Regions from separate parts of the Homo sapiens genome. Here all the other regions are linked to region 2. Evidence: promoter capture Hi-C in human tissues and cell types (Jung and others, 2019). All regions are on one chromosome and are shown on one strand. Each heading gives the region's core, a stretch centred on a gene start or on the middle of the fragment in contact. The rest is flanking DNA. Distances are from core to core; before and after follow the strand shown.

Region 1 (2,700 bases), core at 132-2,631, 53 kb after region 2:
TGGTCCTCACTCATGCACTACTTCTCCCATGATCAATATCCCCCATCAGCATGGTATATTTGTTACAATTGAAACATCATTATTATTGAAAGACCATAGCTTATGTTAAGTTTCACTCAGTGTTTTACACTTTATGGGTCTGGCCAAATATATAATGATAATGACATGTCTTTATCATCATAGATCATACAGAATAATTGCATTGCCCTGAAAATCTTCTGTGCTCTGCCCATTCATCCTTTCCTCCTTCAAACACATGGCAAGCATCGATTTTTGTACTGTCTCCATAGTTGTTTACTTTTCCAGAATGTCATATAGTTGAACTCATACAGTATGTTACATCTGAGCCATTACATCTTAACCATATCATATATCTCAACCATTTTTAAGTGAACAGGTCAGTAGTGTTAACTATATTCACATTTTACAACAGATTTCTAGAATTTGTTCATTTTGCAAAACTGAAACTCTATACACATTGGACAACTCCCCTTTTTGCCCCTAGCAATCAGCATTCTACTTTCTGTTTCTATGAGTTTGAATACTTTAGATATCTCATATAAATAAAGCAGGCAGCATTTTTTTTGTGTGACTGGCTTATTTAACTTAGCATAATGTCCTTAAGATTTATCCATGTTGCAGCATGCAACAAGACTTCCTTTTTTAAAATAAAGTATATTATCCTTTTTAAAAATGTTTAAACAACTTTATTGAAGTATGATTGACATACAAAAAGCTGTACATATTTAATGCATACAACTTGATAAGATTAGAGATAAGTGTATAACCATGAAACCACCACAATCTGTGTCATAAACATATCTGTAATCTCCAGAAGTTTCCTTCCACCTTCTTTATTATTATTTTTTGTGATACAAACACTTAAGATCTACGCTCTTAGCCAAATCTTTAGTATACAACATTATTAACTACAGGTTCTGTGTAGTAAAACAGATATCTAGACCTTGTTCATCTCGTATAACTGAAAGTTTGTACCCTTTGACTAATACTCTCCTGTTTTTCCCTCTCCCAGCCCCTGACAACCACCCTTCTACTCCCTGCTTCTATGAATTTACTATTATTTTACTCAGCATAATGTCCTTCAGGTTTATCCATGTTGTTGCAATAGCTTTTTCTTCTTTTTAATGGCAGAATTGTATTCCATTTTATACACATGCCACATTTTCTTTATCCACCAATTCATCAATGGGCTTGTATGTTGCTTCTATGTTTTAACTGTTGCAATGAACATGGGAGTGCCGATACCTGTTCAAGTTCCTGATCTCAACTCCTTTGGCTCTACAGAAGTAAGATTGTTGGTTCATATGTCAACTCAATTTTAAATTTTTTGAGGAACCTCCATAATGTTTTCCATAGTGACTGTACCATTTTACATTTTCATTAACAGTGCACAAGGGCCCAAATTTCTTCACAACCTAAGCAATAATTGTTATTTTCTGCTTTTTTCATAGCGGCCATGCTAATGGGTATGAAGTGATATTTAACAGTGGTTTTGATTTATGTTTTTCTGATGATAGTAATGTTGAGCATCTTTTCATATGCTTATTGGACATTTGTATATCTTCTTTGGAGAAATATCTATTTGAATCCTTTGTCCATTTTTAAATAGGGTTATTAGGGTTTTTGTCATTGGATTACATAAGTTCTTAATATATTCTGGATATTAATCCCTTATTAGATACATGATTTTGTTGCTTCAATCATTTGCTCTGCAGACATTTTTAAGTCTGATGTAATCCCATTTGCCTATTTTTTGCTTTTGTTGGCTGTGATTTGGGTGTTTTATCAAGAAATGATTGCTAAATCCAATTTCATGAAGCTTTCCTCACATGTTTTCTTCTAGAAGTTTTACAGTTTTGGATCTTATCATTAAGTCTTCAATACATTATGAGTTAATATTTGTAGATGGTGTAATGTAAGGCTTTGATTTCACTCTTTTGCATATGTTTAGCCAGTTTTCTCAACACTATTTCTGGAAGATACTGCCCTTTTCCCATTGAATGGTCTTGGCACTCTTATTGAAAATCACTAGTCCATATGTACCGACGTTTATTTCTGGATGTATTAAGTTGTTGTTTCTATGGGGAGCAAGTGCTGGGGTATGCTATTCCTCTATCTTGTTGATGTTGCCTCCTTCCAATCTAGAATAGTATTCAGGGCAAATGTGGGTTCTCTGGAAGGTAATGTGGTCAAAATACTCCTGCTGGTGGGGGATACCTCAACCATTCCCTGGCATTCACACAGACTCAAGTCATCTCATAATCCGTCCTACCTGTTCCACAAGATTATCTCAGGGTCTTTGTCTTAAAATCCTCTTCAATCATTTGATTATGATGTTTTGAGATGGGGATTTCTACATGCTGATTCTATTAGTCATTAGTTTGCTTAGCATCTTGGATGTATACATTTTTAAAAAAGCAAATTTGAAAAGTTTTTAAGTCAGTTTTGTCTTAATATTATTTTTCTACATCTTTCTGTATTCTCTTTTTCTCTGGGATGAATAATTTCTATTAATATATCCCAAAGTTGATGAATTCTTCCTTTTGAATCTCAATTTTTTTTCTAGCCAATTTAGTGAATTTTTCGTTTCAAGTAATGTACTTCTCAACTCAGAATTTGGTTTATTTCTTGGTTTTCATTTCTCTGACAAAATTTCCTACTTGTTTTCTCATTGCCATC
Region 2 (2,700 bases), core at 13-2,512:
TCTGTAGGACAGAGGTCAGCAAGCATGCCCCAGAGGTACAGATGTATATGTCTCCCAGGAAGTCTCTGTGGGTGAAGGACTGATCTCAAGTTGTGGCTGACACTAGTTAAAGCCAAGTTAGAGGGCTGTTTCAGGGTCTACATTGAGACTACAGTTGATATGCCTACCTCCTGAGACACTAGTGTGTGAGTCTCCTCCTGGGCCCCTGGGCAAATGGTTTTGGCAGCATGACCAAGGCCTAAATGGGGCTGAAGGCAAGCACAGGAGGATGGGTCCCTTTTCAGGTCTGGAGATGGAATCACTGTTGGTAAGTCTGCCACTTGGATGCAAATCTATTCCCTAAAACAACCTTCCTAGGTCTTGGGTTCCACTGGCATTTTACAAACTCCTACTTGAATTCCAAACTCCCTCAAAGGAACTTTTGTCTGTGGATGGCTGAAAAATTATTGTTGCTGTGGGGGCATATGTGTGGGGGACCACCTATTCTGCCAATTTACTGACTTTCCTCCTAGTAAGATTTTAAAATTACTTTTTCCCCATACATAGTTTGACTTCAGTTTTTGTCATTTACAACTAAATATTTCTATGAAAGTCGACATAATTTGTTATGGCGGAGGATGAATAAATGAAGAATGTAATGAATAGCTATTTAATATTTCAATTTCTGGTATGCTAATATATTTCAAAATTGATTAATATTTTACCTATCCAAGATATTTTTATCAAGGGTAATCTGAAGATTAAATAATCTATTTTTAAAAATTAAGTGCAAAAATTTAAGAACTAAGAGAAGTTAATAATATAACTTTGGCAATGATGCTTTTTGTGCCAGCTACAATCAATTGAGTAATTACTGCAGTAATTTTTCAGAATAATTAAGGAAAAAATCAGTAGATATCAGTTGATAATATTACTATGAGTTTTAGAATGTTTTCTATTATAATGGAAGTGACATAATAAAATAATATAAAGAAAAGAAGTATGCAATGTTAAGATTTAGCAACCTAGTCTAAAAGGCACTCTTAACAAGGTGAGGGTTGACAATGTTCGTGATCAAGACAGAAAAAAAAAAAATTCTCATAGGCACTTGAAAAATGAACCAACTAAATGACACACTTTCAAAGTCAACCTTGTACTTTTAATAGACCAAGTATCCTATATTTTGGAGGTGTGTGATGAGATAAAACTGATTTCACAATAGCCCATGTGTAGAATTTCCTGTTCAAACCTTAGTAACACGTTGATGAGAAATCTACTTTTTCCACTCTTGACTCACTCTGAGCCTTCACAGGGCAGTCTGCGAAGATTGCAGGCATTGTTTGTTCTTGTCTTGGATTTATGCCTTTAAATTTCACCTTTTATTACACAGCTATAGCAGGCCTTTTTATGAGACTAACCTGGCCTCTCCACTAAAGGATGTGTGACTTTCTGGGGACAGAAGGTATGTATTGCTACTCTCCAACTCTCTACTAGCCTACCTCATTTAGTGGGTGATTTCAAGTGCTCAATATGATACAAAGGAGGTATAATTAATATACAATAAAATCAAAGTAGAATATTGCTGTCTTCATTTGAATAACTCAGGGTAAAAACCTAAAATATGAAATATGTTGAAGGATTTCTTAAAGTTTTCAAATTATTGTTTGTGGAAATCTAGTGGGTTTGTTGATCAATATCGTTTAAGGGAAAGCTATTAACATCACAATAATGAACAATTAATTTTGTATTTTGTAATCAGTACATCATGTATCTTTGAATAATAATTTATATTTAGCTTAGCCATTAAAGATTATTAAAATAAATCAATCAATTGATGAAAGCCAAATACAATTCCTCAGACACGTAGATTAGAGAAAAGCAGTTTTTATTTTTAATAAAAATCAGAATGAGGTAGATTACATAAAATGCTAAAGGTATTACAAAGCAATAAAAATACTTTTTAAAAATTGATCAAAATATTGCAAAAAAAGATGTAGCGCATGGACATAGGAGACTTATCTGAAGATTTATTTTCCATGCTTTAACTGACATGAATCAGAAACAGTAACATAACAATTGTGACTAAAATAATAATTAAAGTAGCTAATGCTTATTGAGAACTTTAAGTGCCAGGTTGAGTGGTAAATGTTTTACATGCAACGTTTTATATGTTCTTATGCCCATTTTAGATTAACAAACTGGGTTATTAAAAATAGAATAACTTTTTAAAGGTCGCACATTATAAGTGTCAAAGCTAGAATTAATTCTAGATCTCACTGACTCCAGAGCCCATTGACTAAATGATTTAATTACATTATCTGAAATTTTACAAGTACTTATACAACTAAAGTGGCCTTTACTCACTTTGACAACCATAAAATCATTCTATAAGTTTAAATGAAATGTGCTTTAACATGAATTACCTATACTTTTATTTATCATTTTTTGGTTCATAATTTAGCCAGGAAATAAATTACCAATTACTAATTAAATTACCAATACTTCTGTAAGTATTAACAATTTATGTAGTGTTCCTAATACTATTTAGGTTATGCATAAGTTAACTGTGTCACATAGCATTTTCTGTCATATACAAATATTTAATTTTTTATAATTTTTAATAAATAATTTTTAATAATTTCTTAGAACATTTCAGCCATTAAGAAAAGACCATTTAATTACCTCTATTGATTTTCATTAATGTGTATAAATTACTAATTA
Region 3 (2,700 bases), core at 178-2,677, 40 kb before region 2:
GAATCTGATGATTATGTGTCTTGGGGTGGACCTTCTTGTGGGATATCTTTGTGGCGTTCTCTGCATTTTCTGCATTTGAAGACTGTCCTGTCCTGCTAGGTTGGGGAAGTTCTCCTGGATAATATCCTGAAGTGTGTTCTCCAGCTTGTTTCCATTCTCCCCGTCTCCTTCTGGTACTCCAATCAATCGTAGGTTTAGTCTTTTTACCTAGTCCCATTTTTCTTGGAGGCTTTGTTTTTTTTCATTCTTATTTCTTTAATCTTGTCTGCATGCCTTATTTCAGCAAGGTGGTCTTTAAACTCTGATATCCTTTCTTCTGCTTGGTCAATTTGGGTGTTGATACTTGTGTATGCTTCACGAAGTTTTTGTGCTGTGTTTTTCTGTTCCGTAAGGTCATGCGTGTTCCTCTCTAAACTGGTTATTCTAGTTAGCAGCTCCTCTAACCTTTTATCAAGGTTCTTGGCTTCTTTGCATTTAGTTATAACATGCTCCTTTAGCTCAGCAGAGTTTTTTATTACCCATCTTCTGAAACCTACTTCTGTCAATTCGTCCATTTCATCCTCTATCCGGTTATGTGCCCTTGCTAGAGAAGCACTGCCATCATTTGGAGGAGAAGAGGCACTCTGGCATTTTTGGTTTTCAGCGTTGTTTTGTTGATTTTTTTCTCATCTTCACGAGTTTATCCAGTTTTGATCTTTGAAGCTGCTGACCCTTGGATGGGGTTTTTGTGGGGATTTTTGTTGTTGTTGTTGATTCTATTGTTGTTGCTTTCTGTTTGTTTGCTTTTCTTTCAATGGTCAGCTCCCTCTTCTGTAGGGTTGCTGCATTTTGCTGGGGGTTCACTTCAGGCCTGTTCAACTGGTTCACTCCCTCGCCTGGAGATGTCACTCAAGGTGGCTGGAGAACAGCAAAGATGAGTGCCTGCTCCTTCCTGTGGGATCTCTGACCTCAAGAGACACCAACCTGACACCAGTAGGATCACTCCTGTATAGGGTGTCTGACAACCCCTGCTGGAGGGTCTCACCCAGTTGCGTGGCACAGGGAACAGGACCCATTTAACGAAGCACTCTGACAGTCCCTTAGTGGAGGGATGTGCTTCGCTGAGAGGAAACCCACTCATCTGGACTGCCTCGTTTCCTCAGAACTACCAGGAGGAAAGGTAGGTACAGTATTCCTGGTTAGCATTTTTTCCCAGCACTTTGAATATCTTATCCCACTTAATTCTGGTGTGCTATGTTCCTGCTAATAAATCTGCCGATAATCTTATGGAAACTTTCTTATACATGATTAGTTGCTTTTCCTTTGCTGTTTTCAAGATTCTTTGTCTTTGACTTTTGACAGGGTATAATGAGTCTCAGTGTCAATGTTTATTGTTCATCCTAGCTGGAGTCCTTTGTGTTTCTACAGTTTAATGTCCAATTACGTGGATTTAGGAAGTTTTCTCATATTATTCTTTGAATAAGCTCTCTGGAAAAGTTTGTTTTAAAACATCAAGAGAGGCCGGGCGCGGTGGCTCACGCTTGTAATCCCAGCACTTTGGGAGGCTGAGGCAGGTGGATCACGAGATCAGGAGATGGAGACCATCCTGGTTAACACGGTGAAACCCCGTCTCTACTAAAAATACAAAAAATTAGCTGGGCGTGGTGGCGGGCGCCTGTAGTCCCAGCTACTGGGGAGGCTGAGGCAGGAGAATGGTGTGAACCCGGGAGGCGGAGCTTGCAGTGAGCCGAGATCGCGCCACTGCACTCCAGCCTGGACGACAGAGCGAGACTCCGCCTCAAAACAAACAAACAAACAAACAAACAAAAAATCAAGAGAACTGTGTTCTTTAAAGATTTGGAAGAGTTAACCAGTAAAATCATTTGAACCTACTGTTTCCTTTGTTGCAAAATAATTAACAAAAATTTAACTTTAATTGATGCAGTTCAATGTAGGGCTTCTAATTCCTGTATAGGCATCTTTAGTTGTATTTTTCAAGGAATCGATTTTAATCTAAGTCAATACATTTATTGGCATTTGTTCATAAGTCACTCATTCTCCATTTAATATCTGTAAGATTTTTGCAAATGTTCCCCACACCTTTTCATTCAGATAATGATAATTTTTGTCTTGTCTCTTTTTTTCTGTTAACTCTAGTTATTTCAAACTTACTGATCTATTCAAAGACTGGCTTTCACAGTAATCAATTTTATCTATTAAGTTCTTATTTCATACTTTTCTGCTGTATTATTATTTCTTTCCTTTTGCTCATTTGGGGTTAACTTATTTTTCACTTGGTAGTACGTTAGGGTAAAGCTTAAGTCAATTATTTGAGACCCTTTATTTTTTACTTAATGAAATAATTATCTTTCTACTCACTATTAACACATCTCCCAAATTTTGATAGGTGTTTAATTTTTATTTATTAAAATATTTTGTAATTTTATGTCTCATGGATTTATGTAGAGGCATGCTTTTAATTTTCTAAATATTAGTGGATTTTCTAGTGTCATCTTGCTAACAATTTCTAATTTATTTTTATTGTATGAGAGAACATACTGTGCATAATTTCTATCCTCCAAGACTTATTGAGTCTGGTTTTATGTCCAGTGTATGAACGAACTTGGTGAATGTTTCGTATGCAGTTATGAAGAATCTTCATTCTGCTGCTGTTAGTGGTAGTGTTTGCTCTAAACATGCAAACAAAGTTAAGCTGGTTGA

Evidence for each region. The method cuts DNA at HindIII sites, captures the fragments that hold promoters and counts their contacts. A contact is called where the count stands out against the background at its distance.
Region 1: a contact is called between a fragment that was not itself captured here and the fragment with the promoter of KLRC1 in region 2, in 2 of the 25 tissues and cell types used here (liver and mesendoderm cells).
Region 3: a contact is called between a fragment that was not itself captured here and the fragment with the promoter of KLRC1 in region 2, in 2 of the 25 tissues and cell types used here (heart left ventricle and neural progenitor cells).

What each region holds. Positions count from the first base shown.
Region 1 is chr12:10,398,861-10,401,560 of GRCh38, reverse strand. The region is part of intron 4 of KLRC4-KLRK1 (KLRC4-KLRK1 readthrough); the gene reads left to right. Among named protein-coding and RNA genes, the nearest start is that of KLRC4, 9.5 kb to the left of the region's middle. The HindIII fragment of the contact is 6,575 bases long and covers 1-2,700 here.
Region 2 is chr12:10,451,939-10,454,638 of GRCh38, reverse strand. KLRC1 (killer cell lectin like receptor C1) reads left to right here and starts at 1,262. Exons shown (of 7, transcript NM_002259.5): 1 at 1,262-1,441. The HindIII fragment of the contact is 6,428 bases long and covers 1-2,700 here.
Region 3 is chr12:10,492,255-10,494,954 of GRCh38, reverse strand. No RefSeq gene overlaps it. Among named protein-coding and RNA genes, the nearest start is that of EIF2S3B, 12 kb to the left of the region's middle. The HindIII fragment of the contact is 6,447 bases long and covers 1-2,700 here.